3 separate regions of the Homo sapiens genome follow, and regions 2 and 3 are each linked to region 1. The links are contacts of gene promoters, found by promoter capture Hi-C in human tissues and cell types (Jung and others, 2019). All regions are on one chromosome and are shown on one strand. Each heading gives the region's core, a stretch centred on a gene start or on the middle of the fragment in contact. The rest is flanking DNA. Distances are from core to core; before and after follow the strand shown. Region 1 holds the start of TBC1D9B (TBC1 domain family member 9B). Region 2 overlaps RNF130 (ring finger protein 130). Region 3 overlaps SQSTM1 (sequestosome 1).

What was found. Contacts are between HindIII fragments. The study calls those that stand out against the background at their distance.
Region 2: a fragment that was not itself captured here is called in contact with the fragment with the promoter of TBC1D9B in region 1 in 8 of the 25 tissues and cell types used here (H1 embryonic stem cells, dorsolateral prefrontal cortex, hippocampus and 5 more).
Region 3: a fragment that was not itself captured here is called in contact with the fragment with the promoter of TBC1D9B in region 1 in 8 of the 25 tissues and cell types used here (H1 embryonic stem cells, adrenal gland, dorsolateral prefrontal cortex and 5 more).

What each region holds. Positions count from the first base shown.
Region 1 is chr5:179,906,639-179,909,170 of GRCh38, forward strand. It overlaps TBC1D9B (TBC1 domain family member 9B), which reads right to left and starts at 1,259. Exons shown (of 21, transcript NM_015043.4): 1 at 1,066-1,259. The coding sequence starts at 1,183. RefSeq lists an enhancer at 213-990 and silencers at 871-920, 971-1,110, 1,121-1,180, 1,251-1,410. The HindIII fragment of the contact is 17,290 bases long and covers 1-2,532 here.
Region 2 is chr5:180,008,708-180,011,239 of GRCh38, forward strand. The region is part of intron 3 of RNF130 (ring finger protein 130); the gene reads right to left. Among named protein-coding and RNA genes, the nearest start is that of MIR340, 5.4 kb to the right of the region's middle. The HindIII fragment of the contact is 5,868 bases long and covers 1-2,532 here.
Region 3 is chr5:179,828,966-179,831,497 of GRCh38, forward strand. All of the region lies in intron 5 of SQSTM1 (sequestosome 1), which reads left to right. Among named protein-coding and RNA genes, the nearest start is that of SQSTM1, 9.3 kb to the left of the region's middle. The HindIII fragment of the contact is 6,404 bases long and covers 1-2,532 here.

The sequences.
Region 1 (2,532 bases), core at 9-2,508:
GGAGCCCGAGATCCTTGAAGCCCACTGGGAGGGAACCCGAAGCTGAAGGGAACACTGAGTGTTTCTGGGAACAGAACAGTCTCTTCCACATGAAGAAACGTGGCCCAGGAGAAGCCTCCGTCTGCATCTGGCTATTAGCTGCTCACACTGAAAATCAGGATGATTCACAGAAAATGCTCTTGATAAACTGGACGACCTGGCAACACTGGGACCGCAATCCTGTAGGGCAACAGTCGGTGCCCCGAAGAGCACAGGCACTGAGCCCGAGCCAGCCGGGCTCCTGCAGTGCTGGGCGCAGGCCCTGGAGCATGAGGGGCCCCGGACACCACCTGCGGAGGGAGTGGCCTGTGGGCCTCCCCTGGATCCCACAGGCCGCACGACTCCAAGGGTGCCTGTCCAGCTTCATCCTGTGTGATGGTGGCACCCGGGCCCACAAAGGGCCACCTTGGCGAGCTTGCAGGAACACCCTGTGCCGCTACCCACAGCCTTGGGTGCGCAGCTCTGAGAGCAGCCAGGAGCAGGAAAGGTGGGGGAGGAGAAGCTGGGGGAATGGGGGTGCGGCCAGCTCCAGGGACCTCTGATCTTGCTAAAAGGGCGATACTTTGGTGAGATGGGCACGAAGAAGAGGGCAAAAGAAAACGTGCGCTGGCGTCACCTGGCCCCTTAGAGGCACCTGGGGAAACTGAGGTGGAGGATGAGGACAGGGCGGTCTCGCCAACTTTCGGCGGTGAGATCCCGGGAAGCTGCACGGCCCCCGGGGCTCGCGGGCGCCGAATCCGGGCAGAAGCCGCCGCCGGTCTCCACTTGGCCGCCCCAAGCCGACCTGAGGAGAGCCCGCCGAGGGCGCATTCGCCTCCCGCCAGCCCCTCGCCTCCCCGCCCCGGCCCCTCCGCGCCCGGCTCCCGGGTCCTGGCCTCGCGCCCCCGCCCCGCCGCGCGCTGGCGTGCGTGTCCGCCGCGACGCGCCGAGGCCGGGCCGGAACCGGACCCGCCCGCCGCCCGCCGCCAGCCCCGCCGCCAGCCCAGCCGCGGCGCCCACAGGCCCGGCCGCCCGCGCGCCTCTCACCCGTAAGGCCGCCGCCCCTGCCGTGGCCCCGGCGTCGCTGCAGCACGAAGAAGGGGTTGGCCCGCTCCGTCACCCACAGCGCATTGGCCACCAGCACCTCCTCCGGGCTCAGCCACATCGCGGAGCCGCTCGCACCGGGCCGAGGCCCGCGAGACGGAAGCGCCCGCCGCCGTCGGCGTCCCGGAGCGGAGCGTGCGGAGCGGAGCGTGCGGAGCGGGCCGGGGCGGGGCGGGGCCGGGCGGGCGGCGCCCCCTGGCGGGCGTGTGGCGCTCCCGCACGCGGCCCGAGTTCCGCGCCGCCCCCTCAGCCCCGGCCTCGGGCGCGCGCCAGCCTGGCCTCCTGGAGCGGTGCAGCCCACGGCCTCCGGCCTGGGTCCAGAACGGAACGGCCCAGTCCGCAGACAGGGGAGCCGCTGTGCAGAGCAGGGCTTCTGGCGTTTTGAAAGCTGTGCAGTGTGAGAGAAGGATGTCAAGAAGCAGAGTTTGGCGGCTTTTGGCTGGTTGCGCGTGCAACCCGGGGCGTGTTAGCACTGCAAAGGGCGCCTGGAAAGGGTTTGCAGTTCCTCCTAATTCTCAGCTTTCTTTTCTTTTTTTTTTTTCGACAGAGTCTTGCTGTGTCGCCCAGGCTGGAGTGCAGTGGCGCAATCTCAGCTCACTGCAACCTCTGCCTCCCGGGTTCAAGTGATTCTCCTGCCCCAGCCTCTTTAGCTGGGATTACAGGCTCCCGCCAACACGCCCGGCTAATTTTTTTGTATTTTTAGTAGAGACGGGGTTTCACCATGTTGGCCAGGCTGGTCTCGAACTCCTGACCTCGGGTGATCCGCCTACATTGGCCTCCCAAGTCCTGGGATTACAGGAGTGAACCATCGCGCCCGGCCAGTTCTCAGAATTCTGACACTGGGGCCGGGAGACTAGAAGAATCTTCCAGCGCAGGGCAGGTGCCAGGAGGCCCTGATACGGGCTGCATCCTTGGAAATCAGTGCTGCCCCTCCCCTGACAGACGGGTCACAGAGGCTGGCCGGCCCTGGGGATGGGGTCTGGACTGGCCCTGGGCCCAGTGGCGGCTTCTGCGCAAGTGTGAGGCTGGCTGCAGGCGAATGCGGGTCCCTGGTCTCCCAGTGTTGGCCTGCAGGGGCAGCGCCAGTCCACACACAGCCTTCTGCATGAGGGGGCTGTCAACTCCACCTGGGACAACGGGCCTGGGGCCTGTCCGGGGTCGACTGGGATGTGGGGTCACCCTGCTGGCTGGAACCCTCACCAGGGTCTGGCTAGAGGGCAAAGGGAAGGGGGCAGTTAAACCATCCTTGGAGCTGGACCTGACTTCCAGGTGGGTTTCTGTGATTGGCACTCAAGAATCTTGGTGCGATGGATGTAGGTACATGCAGTTGACACCCAGAGTGATCTGCAGTCTTCTTCAATGTTGCTGGATATAGGAATCAGCTTTCAAGATGCAGAGGCGGGCTTTCTT
Region 2 (2,532 bases), core at 25-2,524, 100 kb after region 1:
AACCTCATCTCTACCAAAAAATACAAGTTAGCCGGACACGGTGGCATGCGCCTGTAATCGCAGCTACTCGGGAGGCAGAGGTCAGAGAATCACTTGAACCCGGGAGGTGGAGGTTGCAGTGAGCTGAGATCGTATCACTGCACTCCAGCCTGGGTGACAGAGTAAGACCCTCTCTCAAAAGGAAAAAAAAAAAAGTAAAATATCTAAACTACTGGAAATTCAATAACATACTTCTCAGTAATGTATGGGTAAAAGAAGAAGTCTCAAAAGAAAAAAATACATAGGACTGAATGAAAATGAAAATACAGCATATCAAAATATGTGAGGCATAGCCTTAAAGAAGTGCTGAGAGAGAAATTTATAGCACTTAATTCTTACATTAGAAAACAGGAAAGCCTTCAAATAAACTAATCACAGACTTAAATGTAAAACATAATATAAAACTTCCAGGAAAAATAGTAGAAAATCTTTGGGATATCTAGGGATAAGTAAAGAATTTTTAGACTTGACACCAAAAGCACAATTCATAAAAGAAAAAATTAATAAACCATAAAAATTAGAAATTTTTGCTTTTCAAAGACCTTGTTAAGAGGTTGAACAAAACAAAATACAGACTGGGAGATAATCTCTGCAAGCCACATATTTGACGAAGGACTTGTATCTGGAATACATAAAAAGCTCTCAAAATTCAACAGTGAAAAACAATCTAGGTAGAAAATGGGCAAAAGACATGAATGGATATTTCACTGAAGAGGATATACGGATGGCAAACAAGCACATAAAAAATGTCTAATTAGAGAAATGCAAACTAAAACCACAAGAGATGTTACTACACAACTCAACAATCACAAGAGATGAAAACACCAAGTGCTGTCGAGAGTGTGGAGGAACTGGATCAGTCATACATTTCTAGCAGGAATGCAAAATGGTATGGCCACTTTGCAAAATGAGTCTAACAGTTTCCTACAGAACTAAATATGCACTTATCTTAACAGCCCAAAAACTTCACTCTTGGAATTTACACTGAACTCAGAAATTACACATTTATCCCAGGGAAACGAAAACTCATGTTTACACCAAAACCTGTATGTGATTGTTCACAGCTGCTTTATTTGTAATAGCCAAAATCTGAAAACATCCCAGATATCCTTCAATGAGCGAGCAATTAAACAAACGGTGGTACATCCAAACCATGGGATATAGTTCGGCCATAAAAAGGAATAAATGACTGATACACATAACAACTTGAAAGTATCTTGGCCGGGCGCAGTGGCTCACGCCTGTAATCCCAGCACTTTGGGAGGCTGAGGTGGGCGGATCACAAGGTCAGGAGATCGAGACCATCCTGGCTAACACGGTGAAACCCCATCTCTACTAAAAATACAAAAAATTAGCCAGGCACGGTGGCAGGCACCTGTAGTCCCAGCTACTCCGGAGGCTGAGGCAGGAGAATGGCGTGAACCTGGGAGGCGGAGCTTGCAGTAAGCTGAGATCCAGCCGCTGCACTCCAGCCTCGGCGACAGTGAGACTACATCTCAAAAAAAAAAAAAAAAAAAAAAAAAAAAGTATCTCAAGGTAATTATGCTGAGTGAGGAAGTGAAGAATTCCAAACTCTAGAGGTTACATACTATATGATTCCACCTATATAACATTTTTTTCTTTATTTTTTTGAAACAGAGTCTCACTCTGTCACCCAGGCTGGAGTGCAGTGGTACGATCATGGCTCACTGCAGCCTCTGCCTCCCAAGTTCAAGCAATTCTCGTGCTTCAGCCTCCTGAATGGATGGGACTACAGGCGCATGGCACCTTGCCCAGCTACATTTTTGTATTTTTAGTGGAGATGGGGTTTGCCATGTTGGCCAGGCTGGTCTTGAACTCCTGACCTCAAGTGATCCACCTGCCTTGGCTTCCCAAAGTGCCGGGATTACAGGTGTGAGCCACCGTGCCTGGCCCATGATTCCACCTATTTAACATTCTTGAAATGACAAAACTATAGAGATGAGAAACAGATTCCTGGTAGATTAGGGAAGGGGGAAGGAGGGAGGTGGCTGTGGTTATAAAAGAGTAGCACAAGGGTTCCTTGTGATGGAACTGGTCTGTATCCTGACCGTGTTGTTGGTCATGTGAATCTACACATGCGATAAAACTACACAGACTAAAGACAGACACACACATACACAAATAAGTACACATTAAACTGGAGAGGTGGGGAGATTTCAGTGTATTTAGGAAGATCAGTGGATTGCATCCATGCCAATTTCCAGGTTATGATACTGACCACAGTTATACATGTTGTTACCACAAGGAGAAATGAGTGAAGGGGATAAGAGACATCTTTGTATTTGTATTATCTCTTACAAATGCAAGCAAATCTACATTTTCACAAAACGCATATAACCTGAAACTAATCACGAAGGAACACAACACGTCGGATAAACTCAAATACAAAATAATTGATCTGTACTTTTCAGAAACGTCCATGTCATAAAACCAAGTAAGAAGAGACAACTGAATGCAAAATCCAATGAGCTC
Region 3 (2,532 bases), core at 23-2,522, 78 kb before region 1:
GAAGGAAGACCATCTGTTCAGGTACCAGGAAAGGCAAGAGGTGGGAGTGATCGGGGGACAGGAACAAGGGGGGAGGGTTGAAAACCTCTAGGGAGTGTCAGCTAGAGACTTCAGGGCCCACTTGGCCAGATGATGGCTCTTGCCAACAATTGAAGGAGACCTCATGTTTAATTCCAGGAGCACCTGACCCAGGGAAGCTTCAGCATGGGATACTAGAGACAGGCCAGGGTGAGGCACCAGCCTGAAACTGGGCATCCCGAATGAGCAATGGGCCCAGCAGTCAGTTCCCTGGCCAGGCAGGAGGTGGGGAGTCCCTGCTGAGGGAGGTTGAATGCCCCCAGAGAAGTGTCCTACAGCTCCTGCCTGCCAGACCCCCAGGCACCCTGCAGAGGGAAAGTTAGTGATGGCGCTGGCCCCACAGAAGGCTTCCTGTCAACCTTAGTGCTTCAGTGGGATCAGACCCCTGGGTCACCAGCCATCTGAGGAAAGCCCCCACACATGGGAGAAAAGGTCTTAAAGGGAAGAGAATGTTAATGTCCTCAGTGAGATACAAAAGAGCATTGTCTGCATGAAAAAGGAACAGGATACTAGAAAAAGGATAACAAAGGGAACAGAATAAGAAAGTTCTTAAAATTAAAAAATAGAAAAAAAACTTCAAAAGAAGGCTTAGATTCTACTATTGTCTCAAGGAGATATTCCAAAAGCAAAATAGAGATAGTTTTTTTATCTTTCCTCTCCTCCTAATGTAGGAACAAGTCTAGAAGCCCAATATAGGATGAGTAGGAATTCCAGAAAGAATAGAAAACTGAAAGGAGGAAATGAACATAGAATGCAAGATAGTTTCTTGGCACCAGGCATGGTGGCTCATGCCTGTAATCCCAACACTTTGGGAGACCAAGGCAGGCAGATGACTTGAGCTCACGAGTTTGAGACCAGCCTTGGCAACATAGGGAGACACCATCCCCCACTTCCCGTGTCTACAAACACTATGAAAATTAGCCAGGCATGGAGTTGTGTACTTATGGCCCCAGCTACGTGGGAGGCTGAGGTTGGGGATGGCTTGAGCCTGGAAGGCAGAGGGTGCAACGAGCCTGGATTGTACCACTGCACTCCATCCTGGGAGACAGAAACAGACCTTGTCTCAAACAAAACAAAACAAAACAAAACAAAAAACAAAAATGCAAGATAGTTTCTTGGCAATGAGGCCATTATCTTCTAGATTGAAAGCGGCCCTGACAATGACTGAGAAAGACCCCACAGCAAAGCTTATCATTGTCAAGTGTCAGAACCCTGAGGATAAAGAAAGAGGGGCTTCTAAAACTCTAGGTTATTGTAAATACTTGGGAATACAAAGAGCAAACAAACATGAACAGCTAGGAGACAATGGAACAACTGATGACTCCAGAAATCAGTTAAAAAGGCTTTTCGGCCTAGAATTCTTTTGTTTTTGAAACCGGGTCTCACTGTCATCTGGGCTGGAGAGCAGTGGTACAGTTGTCTTCATCTCGTGGGCTCAAGTGATCCTTCTGCTTCAGCCTCCCCAGTAGCTGGGACTACAGGCATGTGCCACTGTGCCTAGATATTTTTTTTTTTCTTTTTCTTTCCCCACCCCCGAGTCAGAGTCTCGCTGTCGCCCAGGCTGGAGTGCAGCGGCGTGATCTCAGCTCACTGCAGTTTCCACCTCCTGGGTTCAAGCAATTTTCTGCCTCAGCCTCCCGAGTAGCTGGGATTACAGGCACCCGCCACCATGCCTGGCTAATTTTTATATTTTTAGTAGAGATGGGGTTTCACCATCTTGGCCAGGCTGGTCTTGAACTCCTGACCTCATGATCTACCTGCCTTCGTCTCCCAAAGTGCTGGGATTACAGGCATGAGCCACTGTGCCCAGCCCCGTGCCCAGCTATTTTAAAATTTTTTTGTAGAGATGGGGTCTTGCCATGCTGCCCAGGCCGATTTTGAACTCCTGGGCTCAAGAGATTTCTCATGTTGTTCTCCCAAAGTGTTAGGATTACATGCATGAGTCACTGTGCCTGGTCCAGCCTAGAATTCTATACCCAGCTAAAACGATCAAGTATCAGGGCAGAACAAAGTTACTTTCTGGTATACAGTCTTAATTATTTTAACCTTGGTTTGAACCACATGAAGAGAGAAACCCAAAATGAAGCACAGAGGTATTAGGAAACGGGGGACCTAACAGGACAGAGGGTGAACGTAAAGGGGGTCACAGCATCACAGCGCAGCCTCTGCCCAGAGAGCTGCCAGTCCTGGCTGGAACAGGAGGCTGCACAGCAAGCGGCACTCTCTATGGAAAACACCAGAACCAGTGGGGTCTCTGATCCACTTCACCCTTGTAGAAAACTATGGAGATGCTGTGGGAGAACATAGGGAAAGTTAGCAAATGCAAAGAGAAGGCAGGCTGGGTGCAGTGGCTCATGCCTGTAATCCAAGCACTTTGGGAGGCCAAGGCAGGCAGATCACCTGAGGTCAGGAGTTCAAGACCAGCCTGGCCAACATGGTGAAACCCCGTCTCTA